Regions from separate parts of the Homo sapiens genome. Here region 1 is linked to region 2. The links are contacts of gene promoters, found by promoter capture Hi-C in human tissues and cell types (Jung and others, 2019). All regions are on one chromosome and are shown on one strand. Each heading gives the region's core, a stretch centred on a gene start or on the middle of the fragment in contact. The rest is flanking DNA. Distances are from core to core; before and after follow the strand shown.

Evidence for each region. Contacts are between HindIII fragments. The study calls those that stand out against the background at their distance.
Region 1: a fragment that was not itself captured here is called in contact with the fragment with the promoter of ZNF383 in region 2 in 1 of the 25 tissues and cell types used here (bladder).

What each region holds. Positions count from the first base shown.
Region 1 is chr19:36,827,366-36,833,195 of GRCh38, forward strand. The region is part of intron 1 of ZNF790 (zinc finger protein 790); the gene reads right to left. ZNF790-AS1 (ZNF790 antisense RNA 1) reads left to right here. Exons shown (of 6, transcript NR_040027.1): 6 at 285-746. Among named protein-coding and RNA genes, the nearest start is that of ZNF790, 8.1 kb to the right of the region's middle. The HindIII fragment of the contact is 4,640 bases long and covers 1-3,982 here.
Region 2 is chr19:37,213,268-37,219,463 of GRCh38, forward strand. It overlaps ZNF383 (zinc finger protein 383), which reads left to right and starts at 4,947. Exons shown (of 6, transcript NM_001387601.1): 1 at 4,947-5,007. RefSeq lists an enhancer at 4,573-5,062. The HindIII fragment of the contact is 10,545 bases long and covers 1-6,196 here.

The sequences.
Region 1 (5,830 bases), core at 413-2,912, 390 kb before region 2:
TGGGAGCTTAGCTCTTTTTGTAACAAGTTGTTTGGCATGAGGCCCAGTCACAAGGGCCCTTCCTGACTGGGCTCAAGGAACACAAAAAGTTCAACCTGTTTTTGCGATTGTCTATTGTTTTTCAATGACTAATGTATAGGAATAGATTGAAATAGAGAATTCTCCGAAACAGCACTGGATGAACGCTTCAAGGGGCTCACACAACCTGTTCCAGGACTTGGTGACCATTGTTTGTGTCCATGTTCAATTGAGTTCAAATTTAATATTTAACTTTTCCTCCACAGGGGCTCACCAGAGAAGACAGGGCAAGGTGAGGGGGATCTCCTAGCAGAGGAAACAACATGCGCCAATCAAGCAAAGATATTTTTGTGCATTCAAGGAACACAGAGAGGAAAGACAGTGGCAGATGGAGACGTATAAAGCAGGGATCCTGTTATGAAAAGCCCTAAAAAATAGGGTATAGAGTTTGGGCCATATTTCAGAGGTAATAAGAAAGCATTCTGCATTTTTAAAGTAAGGTTTAAAAATGTTTCTAATTAGAGATACAGCAAAGTTGGTGTGAGAGGATAAAGACTGATATACATAATCTGAGGAGTTCATGAAAATTCCATGTAAAGCCTGTAGTATGAATTGGTCCTAGGAGACAGACAGCTTCAGGGGCATAGAGAACTTTAAGCACTTTTCCAAGAAGAGTGAAGGGCTGGAGAATAAATTGTGAACTAAAATATATTTTGTGTTTGAGAACATGAAGTACTTGAGAGTGATTATTACACGGTTTTAAGAAAAAACTAGTTCTTTTAAATAAAACTTTTTTTTAGCTGAGCACAGTGGCTCACGCCTGTAATCCCAGCACTTTGGGAGGCCGAGGCAGGCGGATCACCTGAGGTCGGGAGTTCGAGATCAGCCTGACCAACATGGACAAACCTCGTCTTAATTAAAAATATAAAATTAGCCGGGCATGGTGGCACATGCCTGTAATCCCAGCTACTCAGGAGGCTGAGGCAGGAGAACTGCTTGAACCTGGGAGGCGGAGGTTGCGGTGAGCTGAGATCGTGCCATTGCACTCCAGCCTGGGCAACAAGAGCAAAACCCCTTCTCAAAAAAAAAAAAAAGGAAAAAAAAATTTTTAGGGACAGTGTCTCAAACTGTCAGTCATGCTGGAGTAGAGTGGTGCAATCACAGTTTACTGTTGCCTCAAACTGCTAGGCTGAAGCGATCCTTCCACCTCAGTCTGCTGAATAGGGTGGGACTACAGGAATGCACCACTGTGCCTGGCTAATTTATTTTATTTTTGTCGAGACGGGGTCCGCTATGTTGCCCAGGCTGTTCTCAAACTCCTGGCCTCAAGAAATACTTTCCCACCTTGGCCTCCCAAAGTGCTGGAATTACAGGTGTAGGCCACCATGTCCAGCCAAAAACTAATTCTAATCCTGATATTCCTCCTCCTGGAAACCATGTAGACAGAAACAAGAAAATCAAAGTAAATCCCAACCATCAGGAAACAGAAAATGAACAGATTCCAAATTATTTGGAGATGTGAAAAGAAAATGAAAGAACAATGTCTGTGGAAGCCACAGTGATGCTACAAAGAAAAACAAATGAGGAATATCCATTCCCATGGGGAGTAGACCATATCCTGAATGAAAGTTTCTGTGAGCAGGAATGATGTCAAAAGGAGGTGGTAAAAGGAGGCCCGAAGATGTCAGGGGGATTCAAGGTGGCAAAACACATTGGTTGTATTTTTTTTTTAAAGCTTTATTGAAATATAATTCACATACCATACAATTAAGCCATTTACAGTGAACAATTCAATGGTTCTTAGTATATTCACAAATACGTGCAACCACAGTCAATGTTAGAATATTTTCATCATTTCGAAAAGAAACTCTAACCCTTTGGCTATCACTCCTTGGCTTCCCCACTGCCACATGTGCCCCATACTTAGCCTCAAATAATGACTAATCTACTTTCTGACTCTATGGATTTTCCTATTCTGGACTTTCATATGAATGGAATAACATATGTGGACTTGTTACTGGCTTCTTTCACGTAGCATAAGGTTCTCAAGGTTTATCCAAATTGTAGCATGAATCAGTACTTCATTCCTTGCTATGCCTGAATAATATCTCTGCAAATGAATAGACCACCTTTTGTCTACCCATTCGTCTATTAATGGACATTTGGGTTGTTTCCACCTTTTGACAATTACTATTATTTTTGAGATGAAGTTTCGCTCTTGTTGCCCAGGCTGGAGTGCAATGGCACGATCTCGACTCACCACAACCTCCACCTCTGGGGTTCAAGTGACTCTCCTGCCTCAGCCTCCCGAGTAGCTGGGATTACAGGCATGTACCACTATGCCCAGCTAATTTTGTATTTTTAGTAGAGACGGGGTTTCTTCATGTTGGTCAGGCTAGTCTCAAATTCCCGACCTCAGGTGATCCGCCCGCCTCGGCCTCCCAAAGTGCTGGGATTACAGGCCTGAGCTACCATGCCCGGCTGACAATTATTTTTAAAATGCTGCAATGAACATTCATGTAAAAGTTTTTGTTTGAATATCATCTATTTTGTAGTTTTCAGAGTATAAGTTTTATTTTCTATATAGAAAATCATGCCATCTGCAAATAGAGATGCTCTTAGCTGTGTTCCGTTCTTTTCTCCAGTGTCTTTTATTTCTTTTACTTCCCCATTTGCCCTAGCCCAATTGCCAGTACAATGTTAAACAGAAGTGGGGATCCTTGTCTGGTCCCTGATCTTAGAGGGAAGACATCCAGTCTTTTACCATTAAGTGTGATGTTGGCTGTGGGTTTTTCCTAGATATCAGGTTGAATTCCTCTTTATTCCTAGTTTGTAGAATGTGTATGTTTTAAAAAAAATCATAAAGGGTATTGGCTCTGGTCAAATGCCTTATCTCTATCTATTGAGATGATTGTGTGATTTTTGTTTTTTTATTCTATTGATATGATGTATCACATTAACTGACTTTTGATGGTGAGCCAACCTTGCATTTCTGGGATAAATCCCACTCAGTCATGTTATATAATTCATTTTAGATGTTACTGGATTTGGTTTGCTACTACTTGTTGAGGATTTTTACACCCATATTCTTATGAGATATACTTTGTCTCGTTTCAGTATCTGGGAAATACTGGCCTCATAAAATGAGCTGGGGACTTGGCTGTATTCCTTAATTATAGTAGAAGACACTGGGTGAACTCAGAGCTGATAATAGGAGTCCTCCTGAACCAGTTGAGCTTCTGAATGGTAAAGAAGGCCTGGCTATTCAAAGGGAACCAAATTTTAAAAAAATTGTCTTCTACTGGGGTAACAGAGGAAGAAACCCTTGAGCAAAAAAACCTTAAAAACTACCCTTGCCCCATTCACTTTTTTCACATGAAAATACCAGTGACAGCTATTCCAGGAAAATCTATTACATCCTCTCCAAAATATAAATTAGATATAACATGCGTAAGATAGTTAGATAAAAGTTTTAGGCTGGTGCAGTGGCTCACGCCTGTAATCCCAGCACTTTGGGAGGCCAAAGCGGGCGGATCACGAGGTCAGGAGATCGAGACCATCCTGGCTAACATGGTGAAACCCTGTCTCTACTAAAAATACAAAAAATTAGCCAGGTGTGGTGGCATGTGCCTGTAGTGCCAGCTACTTGGGAGGCTGAGGCAGGAGAATCACTTGAACCTGGGAGGCAGAGGTTCCAGTGAGCCAAGATCACGCCACTGCACTTCAGCCTAGCAACAGAGCAAGACTCCATCTCAAAACAACAACAACAACAACAACAAAAAACACACAAAGTTTTAAAAGTGTGTCAAAATCCCCCATGTACAAAAAAACTCACTAAAAAAATCAGAGAAGATGAAAATCATCACCCAACATTTCAGTCTGAATTAAAAAAAAAGTATGATGCAATTGCAGCTCTAAAAGCAGACCACAAGCAAAAATATACGATCTCAGGAGAGAGAAGAAAGTAATAGATAGACCATAGATGGGAGTTAGTGGAATTCAAGACTGAAAGAGAAAATAGGCTAAGTCACATCAGAAATGAAGAATAAACTAGCTAGTGCAGCGGCATGTGCCTGTGGTCCCAGCTACTTGGGAGACTGAGTCTAGAAGATTGCTTGAGTCCAGGAGTTCAAGGTTGAGGCCAGCCTGGGCAACACAGTGAGACCCCCATCTCTAGGCGCATAAGATCTGACAAATGCCACAGAAAGTATAGTATGGAACACAGAATACAGAAATTAATGAACAGAACAAAATTTAACAAAGAAACAAAAATCATTTGAAGAAATGAAAATGAAAAGAGAGATCCAATATGCAAAACGCAGAGCACCTAAAAATGAAATCCAAATTAAGAGGATATATCTAAAACGATGGTTGTAGCTGTGTATCTAACACTACAGTTTTAATACTCAAGATGAATTTCCTGAAATAGAGTATAAATAAACGTGATGAAAAGTGAAACCATATTACAGGTGAAAATGAACCAAAATAGTAGCAAAACATGACCTAATAAAATTAGACTAAAACTCATGGGGAATCAAGATAAAAATATCAAATATAAGAAAAAGGAAATTCAATTGTCATCAGACTTCTGCAGTGCTAAATTCAGTACCCCAAACAGTGGGGTAAATCTTCCAATATACTTGTGAAAAAAACAAATGAGGGAGTCAAAACATTTTTATATCCAGCCAAGCTGTCATTCGAGTATAAAGGATATAAGGAGTTTTATGATGCAACTTAGGAAATACTGTTGACATGCGCTGTTTCAGAAGAAGCTACTAGAAGACATACTCCAGCCACAAAAGAACAATAGTGAAAGTTTCAGCAAAAGAATAGTAGTGATGCTGAACATATTTAAATGCAAATCTAAATAAAATAGTAAAAGCGGAATTATGGTAGCCAGCATCCTGGATGGCCCCAAAGGTACCCAGTATGTGGTATTCACAACACTGTGTAGCTGCCTCCTATACTGAATAGGATTAACTTGTATAGCAATAAGGTACTGCGGAAATGATAGAGTATGAGATAGATATAAAAGACACTGTGGCTTCCAGCTTATGCGTTCTTGCTGTCCTTTTGCTCTGGAGAAAACCAGTTGACGTATCACAGGGACACTTAAGAAACCCCATGGAGAGGTCTACATGGTGAGAAACTGAAGTCTATTGCCAATAGCCATGTGAGAGCCACGTTGGAAGGTGATCCTCTAGTCCCTGTTATGCCTTCAAATGATAGCAGCCCTGGCCAAGAGTGTGACTGCAACCTCAAGAGACCCCAAGCCAGAACTTCCCAGCTAAGCCACTCCTGAACTCCTGGTCCACAGAAAATGGTGTTAAGATAATAAATATTTATTTCTGTTTTAGGGTAATATGTTTTACAGCAATAGATAACTAATATAGAAATGAAGGTTAGAGAATAGAAAATAGACTAGCTCATTGATTGCCTCATTTGTGATAACTGAGAGATAAAGGGTGTCATTTCAAGCTGAAAATCAAGGGGAAGAAATTTAGAAATGTTTAGGACTACAGCCAAGGCAGGAGGACTGCCTTGAGGCCAGGAGTTTGAGGCCAGATTAAGCAAAAGAATGAGACCTTCTCTAAAAAAAAAAAAAAAATGAATACAAATGTAAGTCAAACAGGGCAAAATGTCAATTAAATTTCAACATACAAGCAAAAAGTAGGAAATTTAAAATGACAGCACTTAGCAGGAAAAATTCAAATTCCTATAAATAAATCTAACAATATATGTAACATACAATATCTTTTGTTTGTTGGTTTGTTTTTGAGACAGAGTCTCGCTCTGTCACCCAGGCTGGAGT
Region 2 (6,196 bases), core at 3,697-6,196:
ATATCAAGTCTCACTCCCCCCACCACCCCAATCACTATAGGTTATCACTATAGGTATTGTTTCTGGTTCACGTTTCCAATACTTCTTTTTTCCTATCTTTTCTTTTTTTAGTGAATATAAACAAATGCTTATATCTAATCTAATTTCCTTTTCTTTTTTAGACGAACTATATGTTACACTGTTCTATACTTTCCATTTTTTATATATTCCAGAGTTAATGTCATTCCGTAGAGAGCTTCGTTTTTTTTTTTTTCTGCTGTGTGTGTATGGGCTGCATAAAACTTTATGATGTGACTGTGGTGATTTGAGCTGCTACCTTTATCAAATACTAAGCATCTATGTGGATGTTAATTTCTTTTTTTTTTGAGATGAAGTCTCACTCTGTCACCAGGCTGTAGCGCAGTGGCACAATCTCAGCTCACTGCAACCTCTGCCTCCCAGGTTCAAGCGATTCTCCTGCCTCAGCCTCCCGAGTAGCTGGGACTACAGGCGCGTGCCACCACACCCAGCTAATTTTTGTATTTTTAGTAGAGACGGGGTTTCATCATGTTGGCCAGGATGGTCTCGATCTCTTCACCTCATGATTCACCCGCCTTGGCCTCCCAAAGTGCTGGGATTACAGGTGTGAGCCACCGTGCCTGGCCGGGATGTTAATTTCTTTCTTTCTTTCTTTTTTTGAGACGGAGTTTTGCTCCTGTTGCCCAGGCTGGAGTGCAGTGGCTTAATCTCGGCTCACTGCAACCTCCGCCTCCCAGGTTCAAGCAATTCTCCTGCCTCAGCCTCCTGAGTAGCTGGGATGACAGGCGCATGCCACCATGCCCAGCTTATTTTTTGTATTTTTAGTAGAGATGGGGTTTCATCATGTTGGCCAGGCTGGTCTCGAACTCCTGACCTCAGGTGATCCACCCACCTCGGCCACCCAAAGGGCTGGGCGTGAGCCACCGCGCCCGGCCATGGATGTTTATTTCTCCATTTCCCATCCTCCTCCCTTTGTCTGTCTCTCTAACCACACACAAATAGCACACTGTTTTAAGTATAGAGGCTTTATCATGTACCTCATATAACTTCATGTAACTTCAATTCTACTTTCTGTCTCTATGAATACACCTATTCTAGGCACCTCATATAAGTGGATTCATACAATATTTGTCCTTTTGGTCTGGCTTATCTCACTCCGCATAGTGTTGAAAAAGAAAATAAATGGCTTTTATCTGAGGAATGCAAGCCTTCTTTATGTGATCAAGCCCAGAGAGGGGTTGGGATGACACAGCTGTTGTGGTGGCTCATGCCTGTAATCCCAGCACTTTGGGAGGCCTCGGTGGGAGGATTACTTGAGGCCCGGAGTTTGAAACTAGACTGGGCAACATAACTAAACCCTCTCTCTATAAATTTTTTTTTCAATTAGCCAGGTGTGGTGGTGTACACCAATAGTCCCAGCTACTCAGAAGGCCTAGGCGGAAGGATGCTTAAGTCCAGGAGTATGAGGCTGCAGTGAGCTGTGATCATACCTCTGCATTCCAGCCTGGGAGACAGAGCAAGACCTTGTCTCTAAAAAAAAAAAAAAAAAAAAAAAATGCTGGGTGCAGTGGCTCACACCTGTAATCCCAGTACTTCGGGAGGCCAAGGCAGGCAGATCACTTGAGGTCAGGAGTTCAAGACCAGCCTAGCCAACATGATGAAACCCTGTCTCTACTTAAAAAAAAAAAAAAAAAAAAAAAAAAAAAGGAAAGAAAAATTAGCCGGGCATGGTGGTGGGTGCCTGTAATCTCAGCTACTAGGGAGGCTGAGGCAGGAGAATCACTTGAACCCAGGAGGCAGACGTTGCAGTGAGCCGAGATCCCACCACTGCACTCCAGCTTGGGCAACAGAGGGAGACCCCATCTCAAAATAAATAAATAAAAATTAAAAAAATAAATTAAAAATTAAAAAAAAGAAATGAGTTTTTTCTGCTCTAAAATCAAAAGTTTGCAAGCTGCATTCCTTTCTGGAGGCTCTGGAGAATTTGTTTTTTTTCATTTTCCAAGTTGGAGAAGCTGCCTGCATTCCTCAGCTCATGGGCTCCTTTCATCTTTACACCCAATAATGGCTGGTCGTGTGTTTCTCACAGCACACAATTCCAACACTGACTTTATGCCTTCTTCCTCATTTCAGACCCCATGTGATTACATTGGGTCTAACTGGACAATCCAGTATAATTCCCCTATGTTAAGGTCAGCCGATTAGCAACTTTAATTCTACCTGTTAATTTAATTCCACTTGCCATGTAACATAGCATATTCACAAGTCCCAGGAACTAGCATGTGGGTATTTTGGGGGGAACATTATCCTGCCTACTTTAGATGTTGAGGTCATTCAAGAGGAAAATGATAGTTTTGTTAACATGTGATGTTAGAACAACTGAATTTCCATCTGGAAAATAATAACTTTGAACATTACCTCACATACACAAAAACTAACTTCAAGTGGATGATAGACCAAAAATAAAAACTAAAACTATACAACCTTTAGAATAAAACATAGGAGAAATTCTTCACAACACTAGAGGAGTCAAAGATTGTTAGAAAGACCAGAAAGCATGAAGCACATTTTAAAGATGAGAAATTGGATTTCATCAGAAGTAAAAACTGCTTTTTGAAAGACATCATGAAGAAACTGAGGGCTGGGCACAGTGACTCACACCTGTAATAACACAGTGAGACCCCATCTCCACAAAACACAAGAAAATTAGTTGGGGGTGGTGGTGCACACCTGCAGTCCCAGCTACTCAGGAGGATCGACTAAACCCAGGAGGTCAAGGCTGTGGTGAGCTATGTTAACACCACTGCACTCCAGACTAGGCAACAGAGCAAGACCCTGTCTCAAAAAAAAAAAAAAAAAAAAACTGAGAAGGTAAGCCCCAGGCAGGGAGAGAATATTTGCAATTTGCAATATGTATATTTGGCAAAGGACTTTTACCCAAACATATAAAGAATTGTTACAACTCAATAATAACCAATTTTAAAATAAGAAAATTTTATTTATTTATTTATTTATTATTATTTTTTGAGATGCAGTTTTGCTCTTGTTGCCCTAGCTGGAGTGCAACAGTGTGATCTCAGCTCACAGCAACCTCTGCCTCCCGGGTTCAAGTGATTCTCCTGCAGGGATTACAGGCATGCACCGCCACGCCTGGCCAATTTCGTATTTTTAGTAGAGACGGTGTTTCTCCACGTTGGTCAGGGTGGTCTCGAACTCCCAACCTCAGGTGATCTGCCCGCCTCAGCCTCCCAAAGTGCTAGGATTACAGGCGTGAGCCACTGCGCCCAGCCGAATATTTTCAATAGATGTCACAAAAGAAGATAAAAGAATGGCAAATAAGTATATGAAAGTATGCTAAGTTCATTGACATCAGGAAATGCAAATTAAAAACATAATTTGATACTACTGCTCATTCCTTAGAATAGTCAATAGATGCCTGATGTGGGGTTTGGGAGGTGGGGATTGACTTAACAATGTGGGGGGCAGAGGGCGGTGAATAAAAATATTCTATATCCGCCGGGCGCGGTGGCTCACGCTTGTAATCTCAGCACTTTGGGAGGCCGAGGCGAGCGGATCACGAAGTCAGAAGTTCGAGGTCGGGAGTTCGAGACCAGCCTGTGAGCTCGAACCCTGTCTCTACTAAAAATACAAAAATTAGCCAGGCATGGTGGCGGGCACCTGTAATACCAGCTACTCGGAAGGCTGAGGCAGGAGAATCGCTTGAACCCGGGAGGCGGAACTTGCAGTGAGCCGAGATCTCGCCACTGCAGTCCAGCCTGGGTGACAGCTAGACTCCAACTCAAAAAAAAAAAAAAAAAAATTCTATATCCAGTAACACTAAGGATAAATGCTTGAGGGGATAGACACCCTATTTTACATGATATGATTCTTACGCATTGCATGCCTGTATCAAAACATCTCATGTACCCCATATACAACTACTATGTACCCACAAAAATTTAACTAAAATGCTTAAAAATTTTTTAATTTTAAAAAATATTCTATATCCTGATTACGATGGTGGTGACAAGGGTTTAGACATGCGTTGAAGCTTACCGAACAGTTCACTTAAAATGAGTGCATTTTATTGTATCTAAATTATTCTTCAGTAAAGTTGATTTTTAAAAAACATGCACACAAATATAATTTACAAACTATAACATTAGCTCGTTTATGGTGTACCATTCAGTCACTTTTAGTGTATTCAGAGTTGTGCAAACATCATTATCTAATTCAAGAAGCTTTGCATTACCCCAAAAATGAACCCTTTAGCTATTACCAATCACTCACAGTTCCCCCTAATCCTGCTAGTCCTAAAAAACTCTAACTTACTCCTTTTCCGTAGATTTGACTATTTTAAATATTTCCTATAAATGCAGTCATACAGTATGTGGCTTATCCACGGATGAAGGCAAAAATGACGATTTAGTCAGTCTAGCATTCTCAGAGAGCGTTATAACGCCTAGTACAGTCCGGGGTCCTGGGTGCGTTCTGCACTGAGTCGGCTTGGGGCAGGAAGTCATTTAAGCGACCTCCTTCCACTTGCCCCAGCGCCTCACCCCTTCCTGCTCTAGACTACAGTTCCCAAAAATCCTTGCGGCTCTAGTCAACATCTGGCCCGAAGCTGGCGACCTTTTCCTGTTTCTCAGGGAACTCCCTGGGGTTGGCCGGTACCATGGAGGAAGATTGTCTTCAGCGTGCAGGGCCAGCGTCCTACGGCAGTTTCACTCTGAGCCTGTGTCTGGATCACGGAGACGCGGGGTAGCGGTTCGGAGTGCGGAGCAGGGATGTCCCCGAGCTGTGCAGCTGCAAGAACCCGAAAAAACAGGCGCCATCTTCTCGGCGCGGTCCTACTCCGGACTGTATTTCCCAGAGGCCCCCGCGAGTCCAGGGCAGCCCCTTCATTTGCCTGCTGGACCCTCCGCCTCAAGGGTAGGGGAAGTGCGCGGTGAGCGGCCTGGGTCTTGCAGGCTCGGCTGGGGCCCGCAGGTACGTGCATGGGAGTTTGAAGGGACTGACCAGGCTGGTCTGGAGTGTTGGGCATGTATGAGTGTGTCGGGCATGTATGAGTTGGTCGGGCTGATAGAGGGGGTGGTGGGGAGGCGGGCGCGAGGCGTGGGCTTCCGTGTGTGAGTGTGACCTTATGTGACTGTGCCTCTCTGTGTGCGCGGGTGTGATTGTATATCCTCGTTGTAGTTGTGTAATTGTAACAATGTAAGGCTGTATGTGTAGGTATGACTGTGTCCCGTGTTGGGACTGTGATTGTGTGTGGCTGTGTAACTTTGCGTGACATTTGTGGAGGGTGTTTGTGTGGAGAGAATCTGATGAGGCTGTGACTGTGTGTTAGTCTGAGGGGTGTGTGTAATTGTGTTTGTATGACTGTTAGCAGCACTTAAGTGTACTGGATGCCTTACTGAGTAAATCTACTACCCAGAAATAACCCAGTAACGTGAGAATGTGAGAGTGTGACCATGTAACTTTATGTAGCACTGTGTCTGCGGTTGGAAAGTGCGTGTAATCGTGCCGGGGTGATATGTGTGTCCTAGTGGTCATTGTGTTATTTTGAATGTGTGATTGTGTGTAGTGCTCAATAGGGGTCCTGGGGAGGGGGGAACTGTAACTTTGTGTGGCTCAGTAGTGCGTGTGGTATTGTGACTATCTGTAGCACTCTGGTTCTGAATGGTGCTATGTTTGAGGGGTCTGTAAATATGCTAGTGTAACTTATCCTCAAGGTAGATGTGGGACAATGATTGTGTGACCATATATAGTGTTATTGTTTGGGTGAGGCGTGCCTGTGGAGGTCTATGTGGGTCCCCATGGTGGCTGGGTGACTGCAGCATTGGGTAGGGGGTGCTTGTGACTGTCTTTGTGACTCCAGCTCTCCCTGTGAGGTCAGGACAGATTCTCGAGAGGAGAGACCTCACCCCTCTGATACCAAGAATGCTCATGACAGCCTACACTTCTCTGTTTTTGTTTTGTTTTGTTTTAAGGCGGAGTTTCGCTGTTGTTGCCCAGGCTGGAGTGCAATGGCGCAATCTCGGCTCACCGCAACCTCCGCCTCCCCGGTTCAAGCAATTCTCCTGCCTCAGCCTTCCTAGTAGCTGGGATTACAGGCGTGTGTCACCACGCCCTGCTAATTTTGTATTTTCAGTAGAGACGGGGTTTCTCCGTGTTGGTC